4 separate regions of the Homo sapiens genome follow, and all the other regions are linked to region 1. The links are contacts of gene promoters, found by promoter capture Hi-C in human tissues and cell types (Jung and others, 2019). All regions are on one chromosome and are shown on one strand. Each heading gives the region's core, a stretch centred on a gene start or on the middle of the fragment in contact. The rest is flanking DNA. Distances are from core to core; before and after follow the strand shown. Region 1 holds the start of SPRY4 (sprouty RTK signaling antagonist 4). Region 2 has its middle 97 kb from the start of SPRY4-IT1. Region 3 overlaps SPRY4-AS1 (SPRY4 antisense RNA 1). Region 4 overlaps SPRY4-AS1 (SPRY4 antisense RNA 1).

Region 1 (3,886 bases), core at 467-2,966:
CCTCTGCAAGTTCTTTGGCCTCCAGTGTGTCTGGCCTCTCCCAAAACTGGAGAGAATCACGCCACTGATTTGGAGGCAGGAAAGAAGGGGATGCCACTAGGTTTGGGCACCCCACTGTACACTCTTCTTTCCAGCACTAACCGCGCTGGGGGGTACGGAAGCCTTGCTGCGCCAGAAGGCGGCCTCCTGCCCTCACAGAGGCCTTGGCAATATGGATGCCCCTCCAGCAGCTGGTGAAAGAGGCAGCCAGCAGCTCCCTACTCTGCCTACCATCTAGCCCCTCCAGCCCATTTCGCCTCTCTTGCCCATCCTTCAGCCCTATAAGCCACGCAACCATTTTCTGTCTCCCCTGCCTCTCCTGCCCACAACCCCCTGCCCCCAATCAAGGAGAATTGAGAAACCGTCTTCTTGCACAAGAGCAGCTACTGTCTAAATGCTTTTTGATCGTCTGCATGGAGGGGGAACTGGGCACAGCCCTGGACCCAGTGATGGAGCCAAGCTCTAGCTGCCCTGGCTAGCCAAACCCGCCCTCACCCAGCTCACTGTCCCCGGGGTCTTGGCGATTCAGAATTTGTCAGAACATACCGTCTCTATCCTCTTCTCTGTGATGTCAAGCCTGGTACCACCAAGAAGGAAGGAGGGAAAGCAGGAGCCTTATCTCTCCTACATTCGCAACCTCTTCCTCCAGCTCCCACACGCCTGGTGTTATGTAAACGCACCTTCAACCCCCACCGCAGCCCTAGCGCGGCCTGGGGGCTCCGGGGCCTGGCACAGCTCGGTGCCCGAGGATAGGGAGGTACAGGGTGGCCGAGGAGCCTCAGGCCTTACAGAGGCCAGGCAAGAAAAAGTCAACTGCAAGGCAGTTGCATAGCATAAAATGCGGCAGCGGAGCAAAGGTCAGACGGCGAGGAACCGCCTCGCCAAGGAGAGGGAGTAGGAATGCCCAGTCCTGAGCCAGCCCCTCGCTGACCATCGAGGGAGAGGCAGAAGGGGAGGGAATTCAGTCCGTCACGGCTCCGAAGAGAAAGAAAAAATCTACGTCGAGCATAGGCCGCTACGGCGGGCTGGGAGATACACGGCAAAGCTGGCACCGTGGGCACCGAGCTGGGAGGTGGGCGAGCCGCCCAGAGCGAGGGCGCCCCCCGACCCAAACGGTGGCTCCTGACCAAGCCCAGAGACGCCCGTTCCAGCGTTCGAGGCGGATGGTGGCAGGAGAAGGAAAGAGGCCAGGCCAGAGGCAAACTCCCGGGACACGCACGGGGCTTCCCGAGTCTCAGAGGGCGGGGAAGCCGGGCTTGGCAATGCCCAGGGGTCGGAAACGGCGGTGCCAGGCTGTGAACACCCCCGGCGCCGTGCCGGCCGGGCCGAGGGCGTCAGGGAGCTGCGGCGCACCGCAGCGACTCAAGGAGGCGCAGGCTGAGGGAAGGAACACTGAGGCGCGCCTAGAAATAGCGCACCATTTGCCCCAGCCCAAGGGGGGAGTCGCGTCGCGGCTCAGAGAGGGGCAGTTTCAGATCTCCAAACCAGCCATGGACTTACTTTGAGGAGCTGCAGGGTCACAAGCATCGCCCCACGTCTGTGTAAATCCTGAAGCCGGGGCAGGTTAGCCGCCGCTGTACTCGCAGACGCCGGTCGGAGGAACCGGCAAGGCTCCCTGCGCTCCACAGCGCCAGCTCCGCGCTGTCAGCTCAGCTCGCTACCTCCGCGGCGATGTTGCAACCACTGCCTGGGAAAATGGCTTTTTTATGAATGGGAGGGAAGGGAGCGCCAGTGCGCACGCGTGCCGTTCGCGATTCTATGAATGGGTGGGCACAACAGACCCTGAGCGCGCATGCGCTCCGCTCCTTTTTTTATGAATGGGGGGCGGGAAAAGATCTTAACCCGTGATTGCTGGGACTGGCTCAAGCTCCACCAGGAGCCGTCGTTCTTTTACAAAGAGGGGTGGAGGTTCCAGTGGAGGCTGTTGTTGCCTTTTTTTTTTTTTTTTTAATGAATGGAGGGCGGCGGCGACTGCTGCAGCTGGGCCAGCTGCGCGGGCTGCACCCCCTCCCAGCCTGCGAGAGGAGGTAAAGGCCACCTTCACGCCACTGCGGGCCTGGGCAGGAACCGTCAGTGTCGCTGGGGGGTGGGGGACGCTGCGGCCTCCGGATCCCGGGTTGAGAGCAGGGTGGTGGAGGGCACACCTAGATCTGGGGATCTCTGCCCCCCGCAGGCAGTCAAAAGGGGGGGCGGGAGGACCCCTACTGGGGGCCTTCTCTTGCTCTAGACCAGAGACGCCAGGCGGGAGGGGTCTTGAAGCTGCGTTTACCAAAAATTAGGAAAATGTCCATCATTCATATCAAAGGGTGGGGTGAGGATTGGTGAGTGAATCTGGTTCTTTTTCCTGAGGCTGAATCTCTCGTGAGTGCTGGCCGCCCCTCCCCCCATTTCTTGGGTGTAGACAGTGACTGGGCCCAGGCCTCTTCCGGCTCCAGTACCCCCCGGGGCGATTCTGGCAACTCAGCCAGAGGAAGCCTGGCCCTCGCCTCCCAGCGTTCCCCCCGCCCCCCGCCCCAGTGCAATGTCCGCAGTGCCCGGGCGTCTGCCCGCTCTCTGTCGCCCTAGCTAGGTGTCCTTTCTCTGTCCCAGTCGGTTTCCCAGCCCTCACAGGACGCTGGCCTGAGGAGCCTCGGTCCACCGAAGGCCCACGGCCCTTCGCTGTTGTAGGCGCCTTTCCCCAATATCCCCCACCTCTCACCGGCCTCCCCTCCGGGGAAGTGGGAGCGGCCGAGAACTGGCCAGGTGGATGGGTGGAGCCGGCTGCGCCGAGGATGCTGCCGGGGTGGCCTCAGGATTAAATAACAACGGGGCTCTTGAGCCGCAGAGGAAATGGAAATGGCTGGGGATCCTTTCTTCGCTGTTAATGATGGTGGCGTTGGGGGGCGGGGGTGAGGATCAGCTCAAGCCGGTGAAAAGAAAAGCCCCCGCCATTAGGCCTGACTCCAGGAAGGCGGGGAGCCCTCGCAGCAGGCCCTGCTCCTCCCTGGAACGGAGGAGCCTGTAGCCTCCGGGAAGTCCGGGGCGGGGGGTGGCTTTGATGCGTGGATAAGAGCAGAGTCTGGGCCAGGGCTTGGCCCTGAGTCCCTTGTAAGGTCTGTCTTGCCGCTGTTCTGGCCGCACGGGGAGATTGTGTGGCAGTCTTTTTCTTCCTACGCCACTATAGGATTGTGCTTGGCTGTTGTCAGAGGAACCAATGAAAGGCTCCCAGCCCAGGGCTGAGGTCTGGCCTAGGGCTGGGGCTGGGACTCTAGAGGCAGGCAGCCCAAGGTCACCGAGTCCTAGCCTAAAATGCCTTCTCACCATTCGGCTCACCCCTCCGTGTACTTACCCAGCTCCTGAGGGCAGAGCAGACTCTCCCCTAGGGAACCTCAGCCTTCCTTTCAGGGGCGAGACCTTTCTCTAAGACCAAGAGAACTCTTCGCCAGAAAAATGGGTACAGTTGTCCAGGACTTCCTTTTAAGGCTGTTGAAGTTCAGTATCGCCCTCTCTGTCAGCTGTAGAAACTGAGGCCAAGGGTCCTGCACCGGGTATATGGAAGAGCTGGTAAATTGTAGCACTTATTTTCTAGGTCTTTGCAACCTGGCTTTACTTTGCTACCAACCCTTCTCAGCATCACAGACCTAAAAACCTGTTTCTCGCATGTCATTTAAGCATTTTAAACAATGAAAGTTGAAGCAGTAATTTTCCAGCTGGTGCTCACCCATGGCCCTTGCTGAAACAGTCAGAAGGATGGGAATAAATAAATCTTAAATCTATGGCAGAAAAGGAGGATTGGAGGAGCCGCGGGGAGGGGGGTTGCTATCCTGTTTTCTTTATTAGAGAAACTCAGGAGACAGACAGGATTACA
Region 2 (3,886 bases), core at 760-3,259, 100 kb before region 1:
AAAAACTTAGCTGGGTGTGGTGGTGGGCACCTGTAATCCCAGCTACTAGGGAGGCTGAGGCAGGAGAACTGCTTGAACCTGGGAGGCGGAGGTTGTAGTGACCTGAGATGGTGCCACTGCACTCCAGTCTGGGCTACAGAGCAAGACTCTGTCTTAGTGTATGCTTATTGTAACTTGGAACTAAAAAGCCCTTTCCATGGCCGTAGTGGCCCATGCCCTTTCCCATCTGCGTCTTGTACTCCACACCCCTCACCCACCGCCCTTCACCTTTCGCCAGGATTTTGTCTGAATGGATCTAGTCCCAGCTGCATACGTTCAGCATAGACAATGATTAAAACCTAGACTTCAGGGGTCTGTAGCTGGAGGCAAGTTGCTCTGTGAGCCTGTTTCCATACCTGTTCAATGAGCATAGGAAACGCCACCTCTGACAGATGTTTAAAGAATGTTAATGGGAAAGTCTCTTTCCCATTTAGGCTAAAACAAAAGTACCTCCTTAGTATACTTTATACTTTAAACCTTCCAGGGCACTTTCCCATTCGTTCTCTTATTTAAAGCTACTGAAATCTGGGCTGGGTGTGGTGGATCACTTGAGCCCAGGAGTTCAAGACCCGCCTGGGCAACATGGCGAAGCCCCATCTCTACTAAAAACACAAAAATTAGCCAGGCTTGGTGGCTCATGCCTGTAATCCCAGCTACTTGGGAGGCTGAGGCAGGAGAATTACTTAAACCTGGGAGGCAGAGGCTGCAGTGAGCCAAGATCGCACCCTGCACTCCAGCCTCAGTGACAGAGCGAGACTCCATCTCAAAATAAATAAATAAAACTATTGGTCGGGCGTGGTGGCTCATGCCTGTAATCCCAGCATTTTGGGAGGCTGAGGCAGGCGGATCACCTGAGGTCGGGAGTTCGAGACCAGCCTGACAAACATGGAGAAACCCCCGTCTCTACTAAAAATACAAAATTAGCTGGGCATGGTGGTACATGCCTGTAATCCTAGCTACTCGGGAAGCTGAGGCAGGGGAATCGCTTGAACCTGGGAGGCAGAGGTTGTGGTGAGCCAAGATCGTGCCATTGCACTCCAGCCTGGGCAACAAGAGCGAAACTCCATCTCAAAAAAAAAAAAAAAAAAAAACTATTGAAATCTGCATATGGTTGGGTGTGGTGGCTCACGCCTGTAATCCCAGCACTTTGGGAGGCTGAGGCTGGTGGATCACAAGGCCAGGAGTTCAAAACCAGCCTGACCAACATGGTGAAACCCCGTTTCTACTAAAAATACAAAAATTAGCTGGGCGTGGTGGTGCACACCTGTAATCCCAGCTACTCAGGAGGCTGAGGCAGGAGAATCACTTGAACCCAGGAGGTGGAGGTTGCACTGAGCTGAGATCACGCCATTGCACTGCAGCCTGGGCAACAGAGCGAGACTCCGTCTCAAAAAAAAAAAAAAAAGAAATCTGCATATGAAGCAGGGTGGGCGATGTGGTCTCCTTATCAAGCAGGAAGTGGCCTCAGAGAGGTTAAAGCCCTGTTCAAGGAGACACAGGGAATGGATAGTGAAACTGGGACTGCAATGACAGCTGCACTTGAACTTCTCCTGAAGGTGATGCTGCGGAGGGACCAGATGAAGACTCTGAGCCCCAAAGCCAGCCAGCATCTAAGGGACAGACCTCTGCTTTCAGGTCAGCCCCGACACGGCTGCCTGCTCAGGGAGGCCGACTTCCCTACAGCCCAATTCTGGGGCACTCACACATCTCTCAAATTCTTCAGTGTTCACCCTCTCCCTGGTCTTCTCCCATTGCACTTCTCCCGCCACTGACCTTGGCTTCTCCAGCCTTCCCTCCTCCAGTTTACAGCCCCAATTCACTGGGCAGTGTGGGGAGCTTGGGCCAAGGGTAGGATTTGGCTGTGGGGTGGGTGGGGTCACAGGGCAGCGAAAGCTTCACCAAACATCTTGCCCACTACCTCCACAGTCCAAGTCCGGGGATGCATTTCCTAAGGGGAGCCCAGTTCGGTATCTAAATCCTTCAAGGTGGGGAGCCAGAGGGAGAGGGGTGTTAAGATCTTTAACTTCCAGAATTCACATTCTTGCAATGAGCGGGACCCTGTCCGGCTAAGAAGCATCAGTACCACAGGAGGGAGTTTAAACAGGAAGAGGAGATTTTGCTTTGTGGTTGTGATTTTAATGCTCTCCCGGCTGGTTGGATGAGTGCCTACTTTCTGGGGCTGGGGTGGTAGGGTGGAGGTGAGAAGGTGGTGGGGGAAGAGAATAGGGAGGAAAGGAGAGTCCTCAAAAAAGTAGTGTAGCTGCATGGGAGAAAGCGATGTCTGAATCCTGTGAATCCCCTGGAGCTGCTTCCCAGCTGTTTGACCTTGTGAAATGGCCTAACTTCTCCCAACTTCCATTTCCTCATCTGTATAAAAGCAGGGACAATACTTCCTTTATTAAGCAAATATCTTCTGTCTGCCTACCGTATGCTTGACCCTGTGCAAATGAACAAGACAAACAGGAGACAGGATCTCTGCCGCCCTGGAGCTTATATTCCAGGAGGGAGACAAACAAGAAATACATCAACTATAAACAAACAAGATAATTTTGGATCATGCTAAGTGTTAGTCAAAAGCCGAAAGGGAGTGGGGAACATGGGACGGACAGGGAACTCCTCTCTGAGGACGTAGCCTCTGAACAGAGTCCTGGAAGCTGAGAAGTCAGTTCTGGAAATGGAGGAAGAGTGCTCCAGGCGCAGGGAACAGCAAGTGCAAAGGCCTTGAGATGGGAATGGGCTTGACGCGCTTGCAAAACAGGCAGTGGCCTGAAAATATAAAATGTGGTGAGCAAGCGGAGAAGTGGTTTGAGCAGAGGTGGGAGAAGTAGGCCAGAAACAGATCACACAGGGCTTTGGAGGCTATGCTGAGGGGTTTGGAAGGCTTTCGAGGGTAAGTTAAGCAGGAGAATGACATGATTAGGTATGTATTTGAAAAGATCACCACCATGAATTTTCTGAGCCTCATTTTCCCCCTCTGTTAAAAATGAGCATAATAATACATATCTCACAGGATTATAGAGGATTAAAAGACTTGAAAGTTAAAGCAACAAGCAAATTGATGAACATATATGCCCGAGGTGCACAACAAATGCCAGGACCATGATGTGAAGACTTTTTAGGAGCTCTGAAGAGATCTGCTTAGGAGTGAGGATGGTTCCTAAAGAGTTAATCAAACCTGTCTTGGGAAAAGCAATCCCATGCTGCTAATATAATGGTAAAGGATGCAATTCAGGCTGTTTATTTTTTAGAGATTCAGTGCTCCTATTAAGCAATCACTCTGTTTATGTCACTGCTAATTGAAGTAAATTGCTTTCTGCAATCAAATCGGGAAGTTCCCCCTTCCGATCACGAAAGGGACTTGGACTCTGGTTCCTGATTTCCAGTATTTAGTCTGACTTGAGATTTGCCCTGTAATTAATTGCATACATTCCACTGATTTCCTTAAACAAGCAGTTGGTTTGCCGTTGGGTCGGCAAGGGATGCGTTGATTTTGAAATTGCCCCTGGGATAGGAAGTGTTCCGCCTCCCTTCTCTCGCAACCCCAGCCACAGCAGCCTTCTGGCTGATGGAGCTGGTGGGGAGTGGGCCTCACAGCAGATGTGAGAGGTGGAAGTGAGCAGCAGGTGTGACCGCTGTGGTCCAGAATCCTCTTGGTGCCCCCGCCCAGTGGAGAATTCTAGTGCATTAGAACCAAAGCCCGTGAATCAGGCTGGAGGAATTCCGGGCCATGGGCACAGGCTTCCTCGCACCAATCATCAGCTCTATTTTCACTTCTCTGAGAGGCATGGGAGGAAGTGAGGGGAGGTGGGCAAAGAGCAACACTGCATCTGAATAAGCACCCTAAGAG
Region 3 (3,886 bases), core at 1,032-3,531, 89 kb after region 1:
TCTGCCTGCCTTGGTCATCCAAAGTGCTGAGATTACAGGTGTGAGCCACCATGCCTGGCCTAAAATTTTTCTTTAAACACTTAAAATACGTCACACTATGATAATCTAACTTTTCTGTTCTTTGTTGTGAAGTATACAGGAGCCTCTAAGTGGAAGTGGCTCAGGGCTCTCTCCTGGCCTTTGAGAGGTTAACACTATTATTTGCTCCATTCAACCAGCAAGGGATTGGAGGTCTAGGGAGGCTGTCACTTGCACAAGGTCACACAGCTGTAGTAAACTTCTGAGTTTGGACTTAGCCCCTCTGCTTCTAAAATCCCCTCTCTGAACCTCATACTCTCCAGCATCTCTTCTAGTTTTTTGCTGTTCTTTGCTACTCAGGCTGAGGCCCCGAATATAAGTAGATGTGTGTTAATAAGTGTCTGTGCATGCATGTACATATACACAGACATTTCCCCTGCTCTCTAGAGTCCCTTCTCCCAGACTGGAGAATGCTGAACTGAAGAGGACCTCAGGTATTGAGCACATAATCCTGACTCCTTATTAAACGGGATGGGAGGATCAGGCCAGCTTGGGGACCATCTGCTGTGTCCTGTGTGGCCTATCCCCAAGGGCTCTGGGCCATATTCTCCTGTAAATCCTCTGCCTTATTCTCATGGTTGCCTCTCCCCAACTCTCCTCCAGTTGCCCCTTTTGCCCAACTTCCAGCCACCTGGCTCTGCATGCTGTCAGTTCCATGCTTGGGTGGCAGTGGGTTTAGCCTGAGATGCCTGGACTTCACTCTCGCATTGCTTCTGTTATCCTCCAGCCTCTGTGCCCCATGGCCAGTGACTGAGACACGAGAAAAGGAGAAAAAGCCACATGTATAGGAAAGACCTAGGAGAAGAAATTTCTCTAAAGTCCCCTCTAGAGGAAAAGATATTTTTACCTCCACCCCAGTCACTCCCTCTCTTTTGTTGCCTTCTCTTCCCCTTTTATTCATAGCTGTAGGTGCCAGCCCAATCCACTTTTGTAACCCAAAAAGCAGACAAAGGCCTCTGCCCTTGCCTTCCCAGACACAGTCATGGTCTCATGATCTGCCAACCTAAGCAGGGCTGGCATGTGGGATTTAAGTAGCTCTGTCCAAGCTTTTACAGGAGTCTGCGCTTGGAATTGTCAGAGTGCAGAGCAGTGTTGTTCTAGATCCCTACCACCCACTTCAGAAAAACCAGATGTGCCTGCCACTCTAGGTTGACCTGACAGTTGTTTGCACGTGTGTGCATGTGTATGAGAGCAACTGACAGCGTATGTGCGTACCTAGTGGCCTGTGTGGGCCTCCTGAACATAGAACTAAGCACTCGCTTGCTGAGCCCTGTGGCTGCTTTTGGTAGAAAAGTGACCCCAGGGCCAGGAGCTGCACCTGGTAGAGACCAGGGTGGGAGATTGATGAGTTTGCAGGAGTGCTGCCTGGAAGGTCTGGGAGCGCTGGTCTGTGAGCTAAGCAGGGGTTGCTAAGCAGCATCGCCACCCCTAACCTCATGGCACGCTGGCTCCTGCCCTTGCCATCCTCTGAAGCAGGTAGTAGGGCTACATTTCCTAACAGGAAGCCCGTCAGGCTGAGAGAAGGGGAAAGAGAGAGGAGTAACTTGCTTTCCCCCTTGGACCTGAACTTCCTTAGCTCCTCAAAGCTTGGTCTGCTGTTGAGATCTCTGGTGTGCAGGGGTGAACAGCTACCCTCCCTAAACATGTGGTGGGTTATAGAGAGAACATTCCAGGACTACAGGTGACAGTCAGGTGCCTGCCAGAGAGGGGCTTTCCAAAGGACAGCTAAGTAAGGGAAATCCTATCTACCTTGTGAGTATATCTGGACTCTTTGCATTTGTCACCACTTCTGTTACCACTACCTTGGCCCAAGCCACCATTATCTTTTGCCTAGATTATTGCGGTCAGTTCCTAACTGCTTCTACTGCTGACCTGCCATTCTCAACATGGCAGTCAGAATGATCCTTCTAAAGTATTATCAAGCCAGGCACTGTAGCTCATGCCTCTAATCTCAGCACTGTTGGAAGGCCAAGGTGGGAAAATAGCTTGAACACAAAAATTTAAGACCAGCCCGAACAACATAGCGAGACCCTGTCTGTAAAAAAACTTTAAAAAAATAATCTAGGTGTGGTGGCACATGCCTGTAGTCGTAGCTACTTGGGAGGCTGAGGTGGGAGGCTTGAGCCGGGGAGGTTGAGGTTGCAGTGAGCCATGATTGCACCACTGAACTCCAGCTTGGGTGACAGAGTGAGAACCTGTCTCAAAAAAAAAAAAAAAAAAAAAAAGGATCAGTAGGTCCCGTCACTCTGCTCAAAATCCTTCAATGGCTGCACATGCCACTCAGAATAAAAGCCAGAGTCTTTAAAACGGCCTTATGAAGCTCGGCCTAAACTGGCCTGTTGCTGCTTTGACCTCACGTCCTGTCACCTGCCCTTTGCTCATTCTATTTCAGTTGTACTGCCCTCCTTGTTGTTGCTACAACATTCTAGACTTGTTACCTAGAATAATTTATTTGTTGTTCCCTTTGCCTAGAATACTTTCTCCCCTGCTACCTACAAGCCTTACTTTTACCTCTATATTAGGTCTTTGTTAAAGTGTCTCCACTCCATCTAAATTTTCATTCCTTTCACTACATTCCTTATCCCGCTCCCCTTCATTGCTTTCCTCCCGACCTCTTGTTGCCATCTGACTTACTAGTATTTTGCTTTTTTATGTTGTGGTTTCTGTTTAAAATGTAAGCTCCATGGAGGCAGGGATATTTGTTTATCTTCTTTACCGCTGTATCCCTGGCATTTAGGACAGTACCCTGTGCATAGGAGAGGCTAAGACATATTTTCAAATGAATAATAAATAAGTCCATATTGGTGAATCATTTAAGATTCAATTTAGAAATAATGAACCTTCAAATCCATGAACATGGTAAACCTCTACACTTGGCTAGATCTTTATTAATCTTTTAGCCATAGTTTGTAGTTTTCAGTGTACAAGCTATGCATATTTCTGTTAAACTTATAGATAAGTATTTTAAGTTTTTAAAAATGCTATCACAAATGGTATTTTAAATTTCACATTCCAGTTGTTTATTGCTGATCTGTAGAAATGCAGTTTACTGTTGCATATTATTTTGACTTTGTATTCTGCAACTTTGCTAAATTTACTTATTAGTTCTGGTAATTTTTTGGTAGATTCCATAGGATTTTCTACATATACAATAATGTAGTCTCCAAATGAGGAGTTTGACTTTTCTTCTAATTTTTATGATTTTTATTTCCTTCTGTGGTTTTATTTCCCTGGCCTGGAATCTAGTACAATGTTGAATAGAAGTGGTGAGAGTGGACATTTTTGCCTTATTCCTATATATAGGCAAGTGCTTTCTCTCTCTCTCATCTGTCTCTATTTCTCTCTCTCTGCGTGTGTGTGTGTGTGTGTGTGTCCATTACTCTTTAGCAAATTTACAGTTGCCTGCACTTACCTAAGCCAAGCTCACAAAGGTTTTTCTCCTATGTTTTTTTTCTAAAAGTGTGATAATCTTAAGTTTTATATTTGGGTCTATGATCCATCTCCAGGAGGCATTTTGGACACTGATGAGGGCATTGTTGTTTGTCAAAGTGACAGGGGAGGGGTTTAACCAGCAATGGATTGGCAGGAATGCTAGATGTACAAGAAATACACCCACCATAACAAAAAGCCTCATGACTCATATGACCATCAAATGTCCTACCAAACATTTATATAGGCAAAATGTTTATAATTATATAGATATCTATTTAGCTTTCATTTCAAAATACCAAAAATTTTAAGGAAGATTTTGACAATATTAATAGAGTCTTTCCTTTCTTCTCTTAAATCCAAAGTTTTTCCTTAAAAG
Region 4 (3,886 bases), core at 1,007-3,506, 73 kb after region 1:
TTGTCTTTTCTTTTCCCTAAGTGCTCTACCACTCCAATCCTTCCCACACTCCACTGCAGCATTGGTCTCTGGTGTTGGCAGTGGCATAATCCACAAACCTTCTTATTTAGACACAGTTACCTTTTGTTTTGAGGGGACAGGGGAAGAGGTGTGAAGTGTTTCTCTGGGGCCTGACTGGTGTTAGGTGTTACTTGTGCTAGGTGTTACTTGTGACAACATCATGCCGTGTGACCCTCGATGACAGAGGTGCCCACGTGTTGTTTAACTTTTACGCATGTGTTTGAAATAGGTGGGACCCTGAAGCACAGGGCCCAGGGCAGGGGCCTCTCTTGTCTGGTTCTAAGGGCAGTACTCTTGTTTTCCAGAAACCCTCAGTAGGCTTCCTTTTACATTTCATTAGATAGAATTAATCACTGCCAGAAAGAAGGTAAATTTCTGTAACTTCCTTCTGCCAATCATGAGTCATTCTCTGGGATGAGCACATGGTCTCTGGACAAAATTGGGGTTCTGTTAGTGAGGAAGAAGAAATGGCTGGACAGTCAACCAGTGATATCTCCACAATTATTATTCCCATTTTTTTGAAGGGGAAATTGAAGCTTAGAATGGTTAAGGTTGTATACCTGGAAGTGGTGGAACTGTGGTTTGAACCAAGGAAGGTTGGCTAAGGAATCTAACTTAACCACTCTACTTGCTGTTTCCCATGGCTGAGGAGCAGGAGTTAGCTGTACTGGAGTTTGAGAAAATCCCAGGCAGAGGAAATAGCATGTGCTGCAGCCCAGAGAAGCAAGGGGTGGCATGGTCTCACTGCAGATTGAGAGATGCCGAGTGACTCAAGTCTGTTGTGTGAGGGGAGTGCTGGGAGATGAGGCTGGAGAGGGTGTGCATCTGGGGCTGCTGAGTGGAGATGGGAGGGGACAAGATTGGGAATGGCATGGGCTGGAAGACTGTTGAAAGATTTTACTAGGGAAGAGATCCAGGTAACCTGAAATAGGAGAGGCAGAAGGGAAGGCATGCAATCAAGAGAGATTTAGAAAGCAGAATTGGGATTTGATGATATGAAGGTGGAGGAGAATCACCTGAGTTTATGGCTTGGAAATGGGTTACCATTCAGAAACAGAAGGCAGTGTTACCAGTGGAAGGTCTTGACCATGAGTTGTCCAGGTTCTTGGCATTTTGAACAAAGAATTGGACAACACACACAAAGCAATGAAAGAATGAAGCAATGAAAGCACAGATTTATTGAAATGCAAGTACACTCCACAGAGTGGGAGTGGGCTGGAGCAAGCCCTGGTTACAGAATTTTCTGGGGTTTAAATACTCTCTAGAGGTTTCCCATCGGTTACTTGGCTACAACCTATGTCAATGAAGACTTGGTCCATGACCAGTCTGTTTGGTTGTGGGAGGTGACCAATTAGAGGCTGAAGTGAAGTTACAGAGTTACAACCTATGCAAATGAAGACTTGGCCAGGGACCAGTCTGATTGGTTGTGGGAGGGGACCAATCAGAGGTGCTTTCCATTTTTCATTTGCAATGCAGAAAGGGGGTGGGGTTGCAAAAGGAGTAGCCTCTGATCCTTTTGTTACTTGGGCGTAGAGAGGTAAGATTTTCCTTTTGATTCAGTTCTAGGAAGTCAGCACAAATCAGCCTTAGGTTCCCTACCTTCAGACCCTATTCTCCTGCCTTAACAGTACCAGGTGAGGGCATAGGGGAGAAGGAGTCCACTTTTTATTTTTTGAGTCTCATTTTGGACATGTTGAGTTCAAGGACATAGAGTGGAGCTGTCCTGTAAACATTAGAGTCTGAAACTCAGGAGAGACATCTGGACTAGAGAGAAATGTGGGCTGCTTCAACACGTAGAACCCCTGGGTTCCATGGTGGGTGAGAGTGTGTAACACATGAAAAGAGAGTCTAGGACAGAGCCGTGTTTAAGGAAAGGAGGCCCACAGAGGAAACCGAGAAGACATGCCTCACATAGAAGAAGCCAGGAGAATTTGGTGACACTAACACTGAGGAAAGGGAGTTTTAAGCAGGAAAGAAAGATAAGGCCTGAGAAGTACCACAAAGGTCATTGATGATGACAGCAAGAGTGTGACAGCCAGATAACAGAAGGTTGATGGGAATGTAGCTCCTTCATTCAAGATATTAAATATGAAGGGAAGGGTATGTGAGGATCCAGGAAAGCTTTTTTTTTAAAAAAAACAAAACAAAACAAAACAAAAACCATGCAGGAAGATTGGAGCATGTTAAATTGCTTCTGAGAGGTAGACTTCTGGTAGAACAGAAGTTGAAGATAGAGACGAGGTGGGTAGTGGAAAGTGTGAGGACCTGAGAAGGTGGGGAAGAGTATGGGATCCTGACTCAGATAGAAAGAGGACTCCCATTGGAACAGGTAGAGTAGAGACCAGGAGAATGGGTGGGACTGGGACATTGAGGAACTTCCTTTAAGATGGTTTGTTTCCTATATAAAGTAGCTGCAAGAGAGGGAGTGGTGGGTCAGATGTTTAGGGAAGTTGAATTGCAATTGTCTCCTGTAAGGACAGGAGAGCTGAGTGGGGAGCAGGGCTGGCTTCATGAGTGGGCAGCTTGAGCAGTCGCACGGGTCCCTACACTTAAAAGGGCTTCTTGCTTTGTATAATGCTCTGGCATCACTGTCTTGAAATTGTTAATGATTTTTGAACACAGGCCGCTTCATTTTCATATTTGTTTTGAGTGTAAGTGTGTCCCATGCAATATCTGGGACATACTGAGATTAACAGTTACTCACAGCTGGGCACGGTAGCTCACGCCCGTAATCCCAGCACTTTGGGAGGCCAAGGTGGGTGGATCCCCTGAGGTCAGGAGTTTGAGACCAGCCTGGCCAACATAGCGAAACCCCATCTCTACTAAAAATACAAAAAAATAGCTGGGCGTGGTGGCGGGCGCCTGTAATCCCAGCTACTCAGGAGGCTGAGGCAGGAGAATCGCTTGAACCCAGGACACAGAGGCTGCAGTGAGCTGAAATCGTGCCATTGCACTTCAGCCTGGGCAACAAGAGCAAAACTCAGTTTCAAACAAACAAACCAATTACTCTTTATCTGGAATTCCAATTCGGTATCCTGTATTTTATCTGGCAACCCTAACTGGGCGCTACAAATTATGTAGCTGGTGCTGCTGGGAAGACAGGAGAATTGCAAAGTGGTGTCACAGGCCCTGGGGAGGTTTCCTCTGTGAAGTATCTGAGAGTGGGGAAGTGATGGGTGTAGAGATTGGACTTGTGGCTCTAAGTTGTGGGGCTGTGGAATGGTCTCCAGCAGGGCCAGCCACCTGAATGTCTAGACAGTGCAGGAAAGGCAGGTGGCTTAGAATATCTGGGTTGTCTCCAGATATCTCACTTGGGTGAGACCGAAAGCCCTTACCTTGGTTGGTGAGGCCCTGCCGTCCCTCTCACCCTTGCATATAGCAGCCCGCTGCTCTGCTGGCTCTTCTGCAAACACCCTTTGCTCCCTTAGTCTCAGGGCCTCTGCTCTGGCGGTTCTCTCTGCCTGGAATGTTCTTCCTGTAGTATCCCCAAGGCTCATGCCCCTTGTTCCCCCTGGGAACCTGAGAGGCCTTCCCTGATTACTTTATTACTTCCTGCTCCATCTTTCTTTATGTCACTTCCCACCTCCTGACATATTATATATGTGTATTTTCTGTCTCTTTCCATTAAAATGAAAGTACTGTGAGAATGAGAGGTTGGTCTTGCTCACTGTTGTTGAACTGATATGTAAAATAATGATACATGGGCCAGGCAAAGTGGCTCACACCTATAACCACCACTTTGGGAGGCCGAGTTAGGTGGATCACCTGAGGTCAGGAGTTCAAGACCAGCCTGGGCAACATGGTGAAACCCCATCTCTACTAAAAA

The links. The method cuts DNA at HindIII sites, captures the fragments that hold promoters and counts their contacts. A contact is called where the count stands out against the background at its distance.
Region 2: a contact is called between a fragment that was not itself captured here and the fragment with the promoter of SPRY4 in region 1, in 5 of the 25 tissues and cell types used here (IMR-90 fibroblasts, adrenal gland, aorta and 2 more).
Region 3: a fragment that was not itself captured here is called in contact with the fragment with the promoter of SPRY4 in region 1 in 3 of the 25 tissues and cell types used here (bladder, heart right ventricle and stomach).
Region 4: a contact is called between a fragment that was not itself captured here and the fragment with the promoter of SPRY4 in region 1, in 2 of the 25 tissues and cell types used here (IMR-90 fibroblasts and heart right ventricle).

The regions. Positions count from the first base shown.
Region 1 is chr5:142,323,305-142,327,190 of GRCh38, forward strand. It overlaps SPRY4 (sprouty RTK signaling antagonist 4), which reads right to left and starts at 1,717. Exons shown (of 2, transcript NM_001127496.3): 1 at 1,540-1,717. SPRY4-AS1 (SPRY4 antisense RNA 1) reads left to right here and starts at 1,989. Exons shown (of 4, transcript NR_120664.1): 1 at 1,989-2,066. RefSeq lists enhancers at 1-679, 680-1,642, 1,124-1,183. The HindIII fragment of the contact is 10,639 bases long and covers 1-3,886 here.
Region 2 is chr5:142,218,965-142,222,850 of GRCh38, forward strand. No RefSeq gene overlaps it. Among named protein-coding and RNA genes, the nearest start is that of SPRY4-IT1, 97 kb to the right of the region's middle. The HindIII fragment of the contact is 6,422 bases long and covers 1-3,886 here.
Region 3 is chr5:142,411,632-142,415,517 of GRCh38, forward strand. All of the region lies in intron 3 of SPRY4-AS1 (SPRY4 antisense RNA 1), which reads left to right. Among named protein-coding and RNA genes, the nearest start is that of SPRY4-AS1, 88 kb to the left of the region's middle. The HindIII fragment of the contact is 6,109 bases long and covers 1-3,886 here.
Region 4 is chr5:142,395,344-142,399,229 of GRCh38, forward strand. The region is part of intron 3 of SPRY4-AS1 (SPRY4 antisense RNA 1); the gene reads left to right. Among named protein-coding and RNA genes, the nearest start is that of SPRY4-AS1, 72 kb to the left of the region's middle. RefSeq lists a silencer at 1,901-2,195. The HindIII fragment of the contact is 4,654 bases long and covers 1-3,886 here.